2 separate regions of the Homo sapiens genome follow, and region 2 is linked to region 1. The links are contacts of gene promoters, found by promoter capture Hi-C in human tissues and cell types (Jung and others, 2019). All regions are on one chromosome and are shown on one strand. The core of a region is centred on a gene start or on the middle of the fragment in contact, and the rest is flanking DNA. Distances in the headings are between cores, read along the strand shown. Region 1 holds the start of CSPG5 (chondroitin sulfate proteoglycan 5). Region 2 has its middle 45 kb from the start of CDC25A.

What was found. The method cuts DNA at HindIII sites, captures the fragments that hold promoters and counts their contacts. A contact is called where the count stands out against the background at its distance.
Region 2: a fragment that was not itself captured here is called in contact with the fragment with the promoter of CSPG5 in region 1 in 1 of the 25 tissues and cell types used here (bladder).

What each region holds. Positions count from the first base shown.
Region 1 is chr3:47,575,442-47,582,631 of GRCh38, forward strand. It overlaps CSPG5 (chondroitin sulfate proteoglycan 5), which reads right to left and starts at 3,424. Exons shown (of 5, transcript NM_006574.4): 1 at 3,156-3,424; 2 at 1,392-2,487. The coding sequence starts at 3,252. RefSeq lists silencers at 738-1,032, 2,635-2,724, 2,775-2,834, 2,875-2,924 and an enhancer at 4,049-4,753. The HindIII fragment of the contact is 21,614 bases long and covers 1-7,190 here.
Region 2 is chr3:48,140,273-48,146,827 of GRCh38, forward strand. No RefSeq gene overlaps it. Among named protein-coding and RNA genes, the nearest start is that of CDC25A, 45 kb to the right of the region's middle. The HindIII fragment of the contact is 7,474 bases long and covers 1-6,399 here.

The DNA of each region.
Region 1 (7,190 bases), core at 2,174-4,673:
CAAGTTAAATACCTCACTGTGAGGACAGTTCCTAAGAGTGAGGTGAGTAGGGTAATTACTGATGAGCTACAGACAATGCCCTTAGGAAAACTAAACTCTGAGTCTTTAAAAGGATTATGGATTTGATATCCCAAGGTAGACAAACATCAAAGTAGAAAGAAAAAAGCCACCTCCCAAAGTCAAGAAACACCCGCACATCTGCAATGCGAAGACTCTCAGCTTGATTTTATCTGTGTGAGTGGCTGCATTTTGGGGTCTGTTTCCAAGAAGGTCCTCCCTTTTGAGTTTGCGTGCCTACATTCCTTCCAGGGAACTGGCCCCTCCTCCCGCCGAGCACAAGGCATGGAGCGGTGTTCAACAGCTGTCTTTATCCCACAGAGTAGGTTTATGGGCCTACCCCTCTCACCAGTACCACCAGAACCCTCCAGCAAACACCCCTCAACCCAGCCCTTTTTCCAAAACTCTTAAAGAATTCCCTTCATTTTGCCTTTTTTTTTTTTTTTTTTTTTTTTTGAGACAGAGTTTCGCTCTTGCTGCCCAGGCTAGAGTGCAATGGCGTGATCTCGGCTCACTGCAACGTCCACCTCCTGGGTTCAAGCAATTCTGCCTCAGCCTCCCGAGTAGCTGGGATTACAGGCATGTGCCACCACACCCGGCTAAATTTTTTATGTTTTTAGTAGAGACAGGGTTTCTCCATGTTGGTCAGGCTGGTCTCGAACTCCCAACCTCAGGTGATGTGCCCACCTCGGCCTCCCAAAGTGCTGGGATTACAGGCGTGAGCCACCACGCCCGGCCTCATTTTGCCTTTGTAATTGAGGGTTTGGGTAAGGACACAACACACAGAGGAAAGACATAATCTTATTTCTGAGGAACCTCTCCTAGTGATAAGGTCACAGGAAGTGCATTTTACCAAGTAATTCTGTAGAAGAAGCCTGAGTGAACATTTCTCCACCTGGGAATCCTGCGACTGTACAACCTCTTGCAAGTTGTGCCTGTCACGCTGCCCTCTGTTTTGTTTTGTTTTTTTTTTTTTTTGAGATGGAGTTTCACTTTGTCACCCAGGCTGGAGGGCAGTGGCACGATCTTGGCTCACTGCAACCTCCACCCTCCGGGTTCAAATGATTCTCCTTCCTCAGCCTCCTGAGTAGCTGGGACTACAGGTGCCTGCCACCGCGCCCAGCTAATTTTTTGTATTTTTAGTAGAGATGGGGTTTCACCAACTTGGCCAGGCTGGTCTTGAACTCCTGACCTTAGGAGATCCGCCTGCCTCAGCCTCCCAAAGTGCTGGGATTACAGGCGTGAGCCAACGCGCCCGGCTACGCTGCCCTCTGTTGAGTCGGCCTCACATACACTCTTCAGTGTCCCTATGCACCTGCCTGCCATGCCCTTACCTGCAGAAGGCCCCTATGTTCTCCACCAGGTAGCACTGGCCGCCATTGTGACAGTAACTTGGGAAGAGGTCGCACACTGACCGGCAGGAGCCGTTATGCCGCACAAAGCCACTGCGGCACTCAGTGCCATTTTCACTGGAGGCCAAGTCCCTGCCTGGCTCTCCTGGGCGGGGCCTGAGGGCGATGCTGCTGCCGGGGACCGACCCCAGAGTGTGCTGTGGAGGGACAGCATGCCACCGACTGGTGGGCTGGCCTGTCCCGGGCCCCAGACCAGGCTTCCCAGTGGGCACTAGAAGCTCATTTTCATCTTCTAGGTCTCCACCTCCTACTGCATCTTTGTCATCCTCCTCTTCCTCCTCCTCTTCATCCAAGTCATCATAAAAGGATGTGGTGGGGTAGAAATCAGATTCATCGAAGGGGGTGAAATCATCGTATAAGTCAAGCAGGCTCCAGGAAGGGGTCTCTCCCTCAGTATCAGGGTGGTTCTCTGAGGTTCCTGGTGACCCTGGGAAGCTCCCCAGATCTGCGCCACGACCCTCACCATCCAGTCCTTCGAAGTAGTCGATGTCAATGATATCTGATGCCGGTTGGGGCTCCAGGGTGCCCTGAAATGGGTAAGTCAGCTCTGGCCCTTGAGGGTCGGGTGTGCTGCCCCCCAGGTTCAGCCAAACCTCCAAGGGGCTCTCCTTGGGGAGTTCAGAAGCTGGGCTCAGCTTGTCGCCGGGGGTGGGGGAGGGTGGCCCGCTGGCCTCTGTAGCCTCAGGAATGGCAGGGGGCATGATTGACTGCCCGAGGACCTCGTGGGGAGCCTGGAGCGTAGCTGGAAGGGCCTGGGCATCGCCGCTGCCCGCCTCTGCGGTCACTCCTCCCAGGCCTGGGCTGTCAGCTTCCAGCCAGGCGGTGCCGGTCACCGCAGCCGACTCCTGCAGCACCTCTTCTGGCCCGGCCAGCTCGCCACCGGGCGCCGTCCACGACGCCTCATCTTCCCCAGCCGCTGGTGGGCCGGCTTCTTCCCGCGTGTCGTTGGCAGGCGGCTCCCACGCCGGGCTGCCCTTCACCAGCTCTTCGGCCTCAACCGCGCTGCCCGCCTCACGCGCTGCGGGCGGGAGGGCAAGGGGCGGGACGTCAGGGCGGCGCGCTGAGGAGCCCTGGAGCCCCGGCCCGCCCCGGTCAGGCCCGCTCGCCTAGACCTGGTCAACCCAGACCTCGCCACCCTCAGACCCCACCGCCCCAGTGTGACCCCAGCCACCCGGTACCTCTAAGCCCCGTCCCGGAGTCTGCCCCCAAGACGAGGATCACACCCCGCCCAACGCCTCGCGGCTCGGCCCCGCCCGACCTGCCCCGCCGTCTGAAGAGCCAGGCCAGGGCGGCCCCCAGCTCGGCCCACCCATAAGTCTCACCCTCGGGAACCCACCCTGAGCCGCGTCCACTGGCTCCCGCCCTCAGCTCCAGGTCCCGCCCCGAAGTCTCACCCTCAGGCCCCGCCCCGGCCCCGCCCCGGCCCCGCCCCCGGCCCCGCCCCCAGTCCGCACCGCGGCCCGCGCGCTTGGGTCCCGGCTACCCCAACCGGGGTCGGCCCCCACGCGGGTCGGCCTTTCCCGGACCCCCACCACCTCCTGGGACCATTCCGCCGCCCGGCCGCGGCCAGGCGGTGCCCCGCCCCCTTGCCACAGCTCACAGCTCCACCTGTCCCCGCCGCCAGCGGGACCCCTGCCCTGGGTGGGGCACGAGGGCCGCGGGGGTCCCGGGCGCAGTCATACCTACCCGGCACGGCCCCAGAGGCCAGGACCAGCGCGGCCCCCAGAAACAGCAGCAGTGGCGGCGGCCCCCGGCCCGGGCCCCCGCCCCCGGCTCGCCCCATGGCGCGGCGCCCCGACCGCTGTCCGCGGTCCGCCCGGCTGGCTGCGCCCTCGGCTCGCCCGGCCGCCGCGCCTCCCGCCGGTTCTGCGGCCGCCTCAGCCCACGATGGGCAGCGCGAGGAGCCGCATGCCGCCGCCGCCGCCGTCCGCCGCTGTCCCCGGCGCGCCGCGCCTCCCCGCCTCCCGCGCCGCCGCTGCCGCCGCTGCGCTCAGCGCCGCCCTCACCCCGCCCGCCGCGCCGGCCCCGCCGCACGTAGCGGTGACGCCGGCCCCTTGGTCAGCCTGCCAGGGGAACAGACAGACCCCTCGCTGGGGACTAGGAGACACACGGACGGGGAGTGCGGGGCAGGCGGACGGGGAGCGCGAGGCAGGCGCACGGCGCGGCGCGCGGCGTTAGGCGGCAGGTGCACGGGCGGGAGACCTGTGGGATGGGGCCACGGTCCCGCCCCAGGTGAACAGGCGGCACGGGGCCCCGACCCGGAGGAACCCACCCGCCACGCGGCAAGCACGGAGGCGGGGACGTCGCGGGCCCAGTTACCCGCAGGGTCGGGGCGGGGTCCAGAAGAGCCGCAGGGGGCGGAAGCACGAGCCCCCACTGTGGAAACAAGCCAGGCCCGGGGCGCATGGAGCCTCTCGGATTCTGCACCAATCCCGTGTTCCGGGCGGGAAGGCTCTCAGGGAGGTCTCCGGGTCTCCACGAGGGAGGGGCGGGCGTTGGCAGAGCCTGGCAAGGGGGCGAAGCCGACCGCCCAGGCTCTAATCGGATCAGATCTAATCCGTTCGCAGCCAAAGCCACTAGCCTAGATCTCGCACAGCCAGGCCCGCCATAACGCATCCCGGGAGCAAGGGGTAAGACCCTCCCTGGGACTGCGGCTACCTCGCCTTCCTTCTAGTCTCCGGGCAGCCTGGGGAGCGGCCTTTAATCCTGGTCCCTTCTCCGGGATACGTCGTCCCCCAGGTGTCTCAGACCACCAAAACTCAGGTTCCTGGGTAGACCAGGGGGGTCTAGATCCCCAGCCGGGCACACATGGATGCTTGGCTTTAGAGTGATCTGTGGGGCCCATTCACAGCTTCAGGGCTCACAGGGCAACCCAAGACCACGCACCAGGAGGTCTGCTTAGTCGGCAGGAGGAACCGCAACCTAGTTACTTAGTTTATTCCCCCAAACCGACCGTCTACCCCTTAATGTGTTACTCACCCAAATGACAGTTCAGGGTATCAGCCCAAGGAGATAGGACAACTCCAGTATTTAAGAGACGGTCCCATTGCTGTCTTAGAAGACCAAATAAGTGACCAAGATGGAGATTCTATCTCCTAATCTTTCTGATACATATCTCCAGATGGAGTTGCCTTGGTTCAAAACCTGTTTCTCAGCAGAACTATGGCTGCAGCCTATTTGCCTAGCCTAGCGTCTCCACCTCTCCTGCCTGGTAAACTCCTCATGCCAGAAAAACTCAGTTCTTATCACCTTTCCCTCTATGAAGGCTTCTCAGCAGTTACACTTAATGCCCATCATCTCATCTTATCTACAGTTATTCCTCACTGGACTGCAAGGCACTTGAGTGCACAGGGCTGGTAACAGAGGGAGGCTCCATATCAGACAGGCATAAATGAACGAATGGCAACCACCCACACCCATCCCAGAACTGTGGTCTGGAGAGCCTTGAAAAAAGGGGTAAGGCTCTTTCTTTCATAGTTTCATGCTGCCTCCGGGGACCAAGTAAAATATGTTTGAAACAATAGCCTTCTCTAAACAGGGGACCATGTAGGGCTTTGCACTCACCTCAGCCACAGAGGCAGCAACGCACCCTTAACTGCCTCCAACCCATCTCTGCTTCCCTTGTGTGCAGCTTAACTCCTGTCACCTTTTACTGTATGTAGACTCTCTGTGTTCCTTTGCTTGTTTCCTCAACTCGGGTTGTGGCTGTCAGAGCGGCCTACCTCCTCCTTCCCTTCCTGAGGCCAGTCTGTGTGGGAAGACCTCATGGATGGGTTCCTTGATGTCTGGGGCATGACAACCACTCACACATTTTCAACAGGGTTTAATGGAGGAAGTTCTCCCACTCATTTTAAATATATTTTGTTAATTATTTAAGTATCTTCTTCTTCCCTTTCCTGGAGATGAAGTCTGCTAACGCTTCCTTCAATTTGGAATTTTTTTTTTTTGTTGAGACAGAGTCTCACTCTGTCACCCAGACTAGAGTGCAATGGTGTGATATTGACTCACTGCAACCTCTGCCTCCTGGGTTCAAGTGATTCTCTGCCTCAGCCTCCCGAGTAGCTGGGATTACAGGCATGCCACGCCCGGCTAATTTGGTATTTTTTGTAGAGACGGGGTTTCTCCATGTTGGCTCAGGCTGGTCTCGAACTCCAGGCCTCAGGTGATCCGCCCGCCTTGGCCTCCCAAAGTGCTGGGATTGCAGGCATGAGCCACCGTGCCCGGCCCAACTTGAGACTTTAAATCAATTGTTGCCACTCAGTTTCATTCTGATCTTCCCTAGTGGATCTCACTAGCAGTTTGAGAACTGAGCATAGCACACTTGGTTGGGTAACACCTCCACAAGATGAATGGGAAAATTCAGTCAGTGGAACGTGATGGGAAGGGCAGGATTCAGCTGCAGCGTGACTTTGAGTTAGCAACCTGTCTCTCATATGTGAAAATGCTTGGTAACCAGAGAGTCAAATGAGTATTTCTTCTGAGCACAGGACTGTGGTAGGGTAAAGAAGAGATAGAAGATGTAGGAACCACAGAGTGAAAGAAAGGGAAACTGACGTCCTTATATCCATGTCCCCGTATTTATGTCTCTTGCACCTGGGCATCAGGGATGTTTTATGTGTCAACAGTTTCTTCATGCCTCTGAGGTTCTTACTGGGTTGGCAGCCTGCCTCCAGAGCTCAGGTAGGCTCAAGGTCCATTGCCACGAATGCAGCCAGCCTCCGACTGCATGAAAAACCCCCGGCTTGACCAGGGGGCTGCAGTCCAGAGGAGTGCTCCAGTTGCCATGGCTGGGGGCATAGCTGTGTGGACTGGAAATTCCTGGCTTTAAGTCCTCAGTATTAACCACTAACATTGATATGGTTTGGATGTTTTATTCCCTCCAAATCTCATGCTGAAATGTGACATCCAGTGTCGGACGTGAGCCTAGTGTGAGGTGTTTGGGTCATGGGGGTGGACTCCCCATGAATGGCTTGGTGCTCGAGGTAATGAGTTCTTGCTTCATGGGTTCATGTGAGATCTGGTTGTTTACATGAACCTAGTACTTTCTCTCTCACTCCTGCTCTCACCATGTGATGCTGGCTCCCCTTTGTCTTCCGCCAAGATTGTAAGCTTCCTGAGGCCCTGACTGGAAGCAGATGCTGGCTCTATGTTGTGTACAGCCTGCAGAACCGTTAGCCAAACACACTTTTCCTTATAAATTACCCAATCTCAGATATTCTTTATTCTTTTATAGCAACACAAACAGGCTAACACAAACATATTGAGTTTTTAGTTTTCCTTGTGCTAATTTGCCTTATTCTTCACAATCACACTACAAATATCGTCAGTCCTATTTTACACATCTGCAAACTGAGAGAATTAGCAATTTTGTCCAAGAGTACGCTAGTGAAGTGGTAAGGACAGGATTTGAACTAAGACCCTGATTCCAAACCCTTTCGTTTTAATATGGAGGCTTTTCATTCCTGCTTGAGAAGAGGAATCAGGACACAGAGGTAGACTATTAATTGGCAGAACAGAGGACCTCCCTCCTCCCCTCCCCAACTCTCCCACCTTCACTTAGCCATTTAAGAAATAATGCCATGATCTCTTACCAGGGAACACAGCAACAAGACCAGACTCCTGGTTCTAGGCTGCATGGCAATCTGCTCTGTGACCATTTTACGCGATGTGCCTCTTTACACCATCCCCCAGAAAGGGAAGGGCTAAGAGGTAGGGGGTCTG
Region 2 (6,555 bases), core at 1,413-3,912, 560 kb after region 1:
GGGAGTCGGAAGAAGCTTTGGAGGAGGATTGAACTGAGAGAAAAAGATTGGCAGGAGTTTGTTGTGCAAAGAAGGGGAGGGACAGGTGTTTCACCGGAGGGAGCAGCATGTTCAGGGACACACAGCTGTGAACAGGCAAATTGTTGAGGAACGCTGAGAAGTTTGCCTGGACCCGAGGACGAACAGGGAGGCAGGAAGTGAGGCAGGAAAGGCCAGTGGGCAAAACGGAACATGAGACCTTGCTGTGACCTTCAGACAATCTAAACTGCTTGAGAGGTTGAGAAGCTTTGCATTTGGAAGGGAAATTAGCATTTGTGCTGAGAAATAAAGCCGTGCATGGAGCGACAACTCTGTGTCCAGAGCTTTACAAGCATTTGCTCTACATCACAATAAAGTGTGTATTTCACAGACAGGGACACAGAGCTATGGTCTTTCTGCAGTGCAAGCTCTCTGCGAGCAGGGAACACGACCCCAGCACAGCCCTACCAGCTCCTTTGAGGGTGAGGACACCCTCACTTGGGAAGAAGCAAGTTGGAGCTTTATTTTATTTATATATTTATTTAATTAGTTATTTAGTTATTTATTTATTATTACTATTGAGACAGGCTCTCACTCTGTCACCCATGCTGTAGTGCAGTGGCGTGATCTTGGCTCACTGCAGCCTCCACCTCCCAGGCTTGGGTGATCCTCCCACCTCAGCCTCCCTGGTAGCTGGGACTACAGGCATGAGCCACAATGCCTGGTTAATTTTTTGTATTTTTTGTAGAGATGGGTTTGCACTATGTTGCCCAGACTGGTCTCAAATTCCTGAGCTCAAGTGATCTCCTGGCCAGCACTGTGGGAGGCTGAGGTGGGAGGATTGCCTGAGTTTGGGGAAGTTGAGGCTGCAGTGAGATCATGCCACTGCACGCCAGCCTGGGCAACAGTGTGACACCCCATATGAAAAAAACAAAAAAACTGTTGGATGAAGTTTTCTGTAAATATTAATAGTTATTTTAGTTGTCTCTTGGCTTTGGCCAGCACCTTTGGGGAGTATCTCCCAGGCTGTCTGTGGTTCACCAAAATCATGTGGAAAAGGAAGGGGCTCCATTCACTCACTTCCATAGTGATACCCAGGGTGAGAGTGCTCCATAGAGCACTCCCCCGACAGGCAGGCTGCTGAGGGAAGACTTCCTGGAGGGCAAGAGGCCTAGATGACCCAACTAGGAAGAGAGGGAGAAGTGGAGGGGTAGAGTGGGAGATGAGCTCAGGAATGAGGGCAGGGTCTGGTGGAGGCTGCTTGGAGAGGCCACTCAGAGGGAAGAATACCTGCTCCTGGCTCTGCCTGTCACCTCTTGGTTCCTTGTTTCCTCATCTGCCTCAGCAGGCTTCTCTGACCGGGTGGTGGGCAGTGGGAGAGGGTGGAGGAACGACCTTCGCCTCAGCCAGAGTATGGGGCAGGCCCTCTGTGGGGACAGCTGCTTCATGGCTTAGCCTTAGCTGATTATGGTGGCCTCACCATGCCTGTCTGTCCATCTGGAAAATGGGCTCAATAATGGTATCTGCCTCATAGGGTTTCACGAGGACTCGAGGGAGATGACTTTTGCTGCTGTCTTGATTTTGTCTGTTGTTTTTGTAGTTACACAGAGGATAACAGATGAATCAGACACTGAACCTGCCCAACCCTATGTGCTGGACTCATCATAATCATACCTGGGACTTTTGAGAACTTACTGGAACTGTGCTACGTACCCTATATGTATTAAGTCATTTAATTTCCTTTCCTTCCTTCCTTCCTTCCTTCCTTCCTTCCTTCCTTCCTTCCAGACAGAGTCTCGCTTTGTCGCCCAGGCTGGAGTGCAGTGGCACGATCTCAGCTCACTGCAACCTCCGCCTCCCGGGTTCAACCGATTCTTCTGCCTCAGCCTCCCAAGTAGCTGGGATTACAGGAATATGCCACCACGCCCAGCTTATTTTTATATGTTTAGTAGAGATGGGGTTTCACCATATTGGACAGGCTGGTCTAAGTCATTTAATTTTCAAACCACCCTGCTATTTATCCACACTTTACAGATAATGAATCTGAAGTTTCCATCCACCCATCCCCTCCTCCGCTCAGGCGCTCACCAAATCTTACACTCATGAGGTGCTCAGTAGCCTGTGCTTTGGGGCAGCCCACACTTCTTAGCACACCTGGCCCTCCTGACCCAGCCAGATGTCTGGGCAGGCCTCGGAGCTCCCAGACCAGTCACCGCACCCTGTTTCAGCCGCACCTGGCCACCTTCCCTCCCCCGCTGGGTAGCTTGGCAGCTGCCAAGGCTCCTCATTCTTCCTCCTGCACACCCAGCTGTTTGGGCACTGGCAAATGCCAGGCAGGTGAGGTGCCTCAGCTTCCATCGGCCCTGCTACCCTTGCCCTCGAGGTGCAGCATAGGCGTGGGGTGGGGAGCAGGGGAGAGACAGGGTGTCTCCCAAGCTCAGGAGCGCTGAGACTAGACTGCAGCTGAATCACAGCATTAACCCATCTAGAACCAGGGCTCAGGAGAACAAAAATGCCTGTGCATGGCCAGCTGGATCGAGGGAGAGACATGATGCCCAAGAACCTGAGTACCCAGGAGGTGCCCTCTGCCCAGATGTGGGAACAATTTCTCTCACTCATCAAACTTAGATCAAGTGGCCCCAATCTCTTCCTTTATTCTCAACTATTGGTTCAGGACCCATCATGAGGTCAGGAAGGAGAGGGAAAGCAGGGTCTTCCTGCCATAAATTAGTACATTAAGTCTTTCTTTCTTTCTTTCTTTTTTTTGACAGTCTCACTCCATCGCCCAGGCTGGAGTGCAGTGGCACCATCTCGACTCACTGCAACCTCCACCTCCGGCGTTTAAGCGATTCTCCTGCCTCAGCCTCCTGAGTAGCTGGGATTTCAGGCGCCCAGCACCACGCCTAGCTAATTTTTGTATTTTTTAGTAGAGACAGGGTTTCGCCATGTTGGCCAGACTGGTCTCGAGCTCCTGGCCTCAAGTGATCCACCTGCCTCGGCCTCCCAAAGTGCTGGGATTACAAGTGTAAGCCACTGCGCCCAGCCAGAAATTAAGTCTCATAGAAATTCAATGTTGGGCCGGCGCGGTGGCTCATGCCTGTAATCCCAGCATTTTGGGAGGACGAGGAGGGTGGATCACCTTTAGTCTCTACTAAAAATACAAAAATTAGCTGGGCGTGGTGGCCCATGGCTGTAATTCCAGCTACTCGGGAGGCTGAGGCAAGAAGAATCGCTTGAATCTGGGAGGCAGAGGTTACAGTGAACTGAGACCGCACCACTGCACTCCAGCCTGGGTGACAAGAGCAAAACTCCGTCTCAAAAAAAAAAAAAGAAAGAAAGAAGAAGAAATTTAATGTTGGTGTCACCAAGAGATTGCTTCTGGACTCAGTAAATTGAAGCCCAAATTTGGAACTGAAGGCCAGAGGTGAGCAACCTGTCCCAGTGCTCTGCAAGGCGGCCGATGCCAAGCCAGCACCCTTCCCACCATTCTGTGCTGCTTTGTGTTAGAGGAAGGAAATGTCCTGTGTGAATGTACTTTTAACAAAAAGAGAAGACAAAAATAGCCAAAGAATGCTATAAAGGACCCTGAAAATAATCTCCCATTTGTTCAGGGACCACTGAGTTCCTTGGTGGGGTGGACCCAGTGTCCTGCAGAAAGGAGACAATGGCTCAGGCCTTCAAGGATTTTCTTCCCTCCAGACCCACTCCTGTGGGGCTCTTTCCATCGGGGCTCAGGCCTGGGGGTGTTTCCTCACCCCAGTATTCCTGGAAACTCCACCTATCCCACAATTTCCCTGTCTCACTCACCATTCTGCAGCCAGAGGCAGGGCTTGTCAGTGAGGTAGGTGGGGCCAGAGCAGAGGCTTCATGTTTGGTGGCAGCAGGAGTTACCAGGCTAAGGCCTGGAAAGTCCAACACAGAGCTCTGTCCCTATCACTAACTCTGAAGCTCGCGCTCGGTGGCTTCCTGAAATTTCCCCTTCCAACTTCCCACCAGTCAGCCTACTCTCCACCTCCCTGAGAAGCAAGCTCAGCAGCCCATCTCTTGAGAAGGTGACTTGAAAGTGGGAGAAAGTCAAGAAAGAGTCTAGGCCACCAGACGCGGTGGCTCACGCCTGTAATCCCAGCACTTTGGGAGGCCGAGGAGGTCAAATCACCTGAGGTCAGGAGTTCGAGACCAGCCTGACCAACATGGAGAAACCCCATCTCTACTAAAAATACAAAATTAGCCGGGCATGGTGGCGCATCCCTGTAATCCTAGCTACGCAGGAGGCTGAGGCAGGAAAATCGCTTGAACCTGGGAGGTGGAGGTTGCAGTGAGCCGAGATTGCACCACTGCACTCCAGCCTGGGTGACAGAGTGAGTCTCAAAAAAAAAAAAAAAAAAGAAAGAAAGAAAGAAAGAAAGAAAAGAAAAACAAAGAGTCTGGCCTTAGAACCTGAAGCCCAAACATCTACTTCCGTCTCTGCTGTTTGTTAACTGAGTACCGGAAGCAACTCACCCACCTCCATGAGTATGAGTGTTTGCATCCATAAAATGAGGGTGAATTCCATCCTGTGAGAATCAAATGAAAATGGCCACATAGAAGAGAAAACAGCATCCCCAAAGTTAGTCCTCAGGAACTTAAGTCCAATGAGATACTCCATGGAGAAAAGTCTCCATGGGCAAATAGGTTTGGAAAATGCTCTGTCGTCTCTTGAAATTCATGATGCATGCTGGCAGGCCAAGCGCTCTGAGAAACCCTGCAATAAAGAGAACAGGTGAAAATTGTTTAACTACAGGTGTGTACCACCACACCCAGCTAATTTTTTGTATTTTTAGCAGAGACAGGGTTTCGCCATATTGCCCAGACTGGTCTTGAACTCTTGGCCTCAAGTGATTCTCCTGCCTTGGCCTCCCAAAGAGCTAGGATTACAGGTGTGAGCCACCGTGCCTGGCCATATCATGCCATTTATATAAGCGATTTGAGCGTCTTTGGATTTTGATATCAGTGGGGGTCCTGGAACCAACTCCCCACAGATACCAAGGGACAACTGTATTATTCAAATATATCTAAGTTATTCTAACATATGTTTTTTTTTTTTCTTTTTTCTTTGAGATGGAGTCTCGCTCTGTAGCCCAGGCTGGAGTGCAGTGGAGTGATCTAAGGTCACTGCAAGCTCTGCCTCCCGGGTTCATGCCATTCTCCTGCCTCAGCCTCTGAGTAGCTGGGACTACAGGTGCCCGCCACCACGCCCAGCTAATTTTTTGTACTTTTAGGAGAGATGGGATTTCACTGTGTTAGCCAGCATGGTCTCAATCTCCTGACCTCGTGATCCACCTGCTTTGGCCTCCCAAAGTGCTGGGATTACAGGCGTAGGCCACCGCGCCCGGCCTCTAACATATGTTTTATGCTGCTATAACAGAATACATGAGACTGTAATTTATTTACATTTATTTAAAATAGAGACAGGGGTCTCACTATGTTGCTCAGGCTGCTCTTGAAATCCTGGGCTCAAGCAATCGTCCTGCCTCAGCCTCCCAAAGCACTGGGATTACAGGTGTGAGCCACCACACCCAGCTGAGACTATAATTTATTTATTTATTTATTTAAATTTTCAATTTTTTTGTGGGTACATAGTAGGTGTATATATTTACAAGGTACATGAAGTGTTTTGATACAGGCATGCAATGTGAAATAAGTGCATCATGGGGAATAGAGTGCCCATCCCCTCAAGCATGAGACTGTAATTTTTTTTTTTTTTGAGATGGAGTCTCACTCTGTCGCCCAGGCTGGAGTGCAATGGTGTGATCTTGGCTCACTCCACCCACCCCCTCCGGGTTCAAGTGATTCTCCTGCCTTAGCTTCCCAAGTAGCTGGGATTACAGGCGCCTGCCACCATACCTGGCTAATTTTTGTATTTTTACTAGAGATGGGGTTTTGCCATTTTTTTTTTAGATGGGATTTCGCTTTTTGTTGCTCAGGCTGGAGTGCAATGGCACGATCTCGGCTCACTGCAACCTCCGCCTCCCAGGTTCAAGGGATTCTCCTGTCTCAGCCTCCCCAGTAGCTGGGATTACAGGTGCCCGCCACCACGTCCGGCTAATTGTTGTATTTTTAGTAGAGATGGGGTTTCACCATGCTGGCCAAGCTGGTCTTGAACTCCTGACCTCAGGTGATCCGCCAGCCTCGGCCTCCCAAAGTGCTGGGATTACAGGTGTGAGCCGCCACCTGGCCTTTTTTTTTTTTTTTTTTTTTCAGTAGAGATGGGGGTTTTGCCATATTGGCCAGGCTGGTCTCGAACTCCTGACCTCAGGTGATCCACTCACCTCGACCTCCCAAAGTGCTGGGATTACAGGCGTGAGCCACTGTGCCCAGCCAAGACTATAAAGAAAAGAAATTTATTGGCCAGGCGCGGTGGCTCATGCCTGTTCCCAGCACTTTGAGAGGCTGAGGCGGGCAGATCATGAGGTCAGGAGATCGAGGCCATCCTGGCTAACATGGTGAAACCCCATCTCTACTAAAAATACAACAGATTAGCCGGGTGTGGTGGCAGCC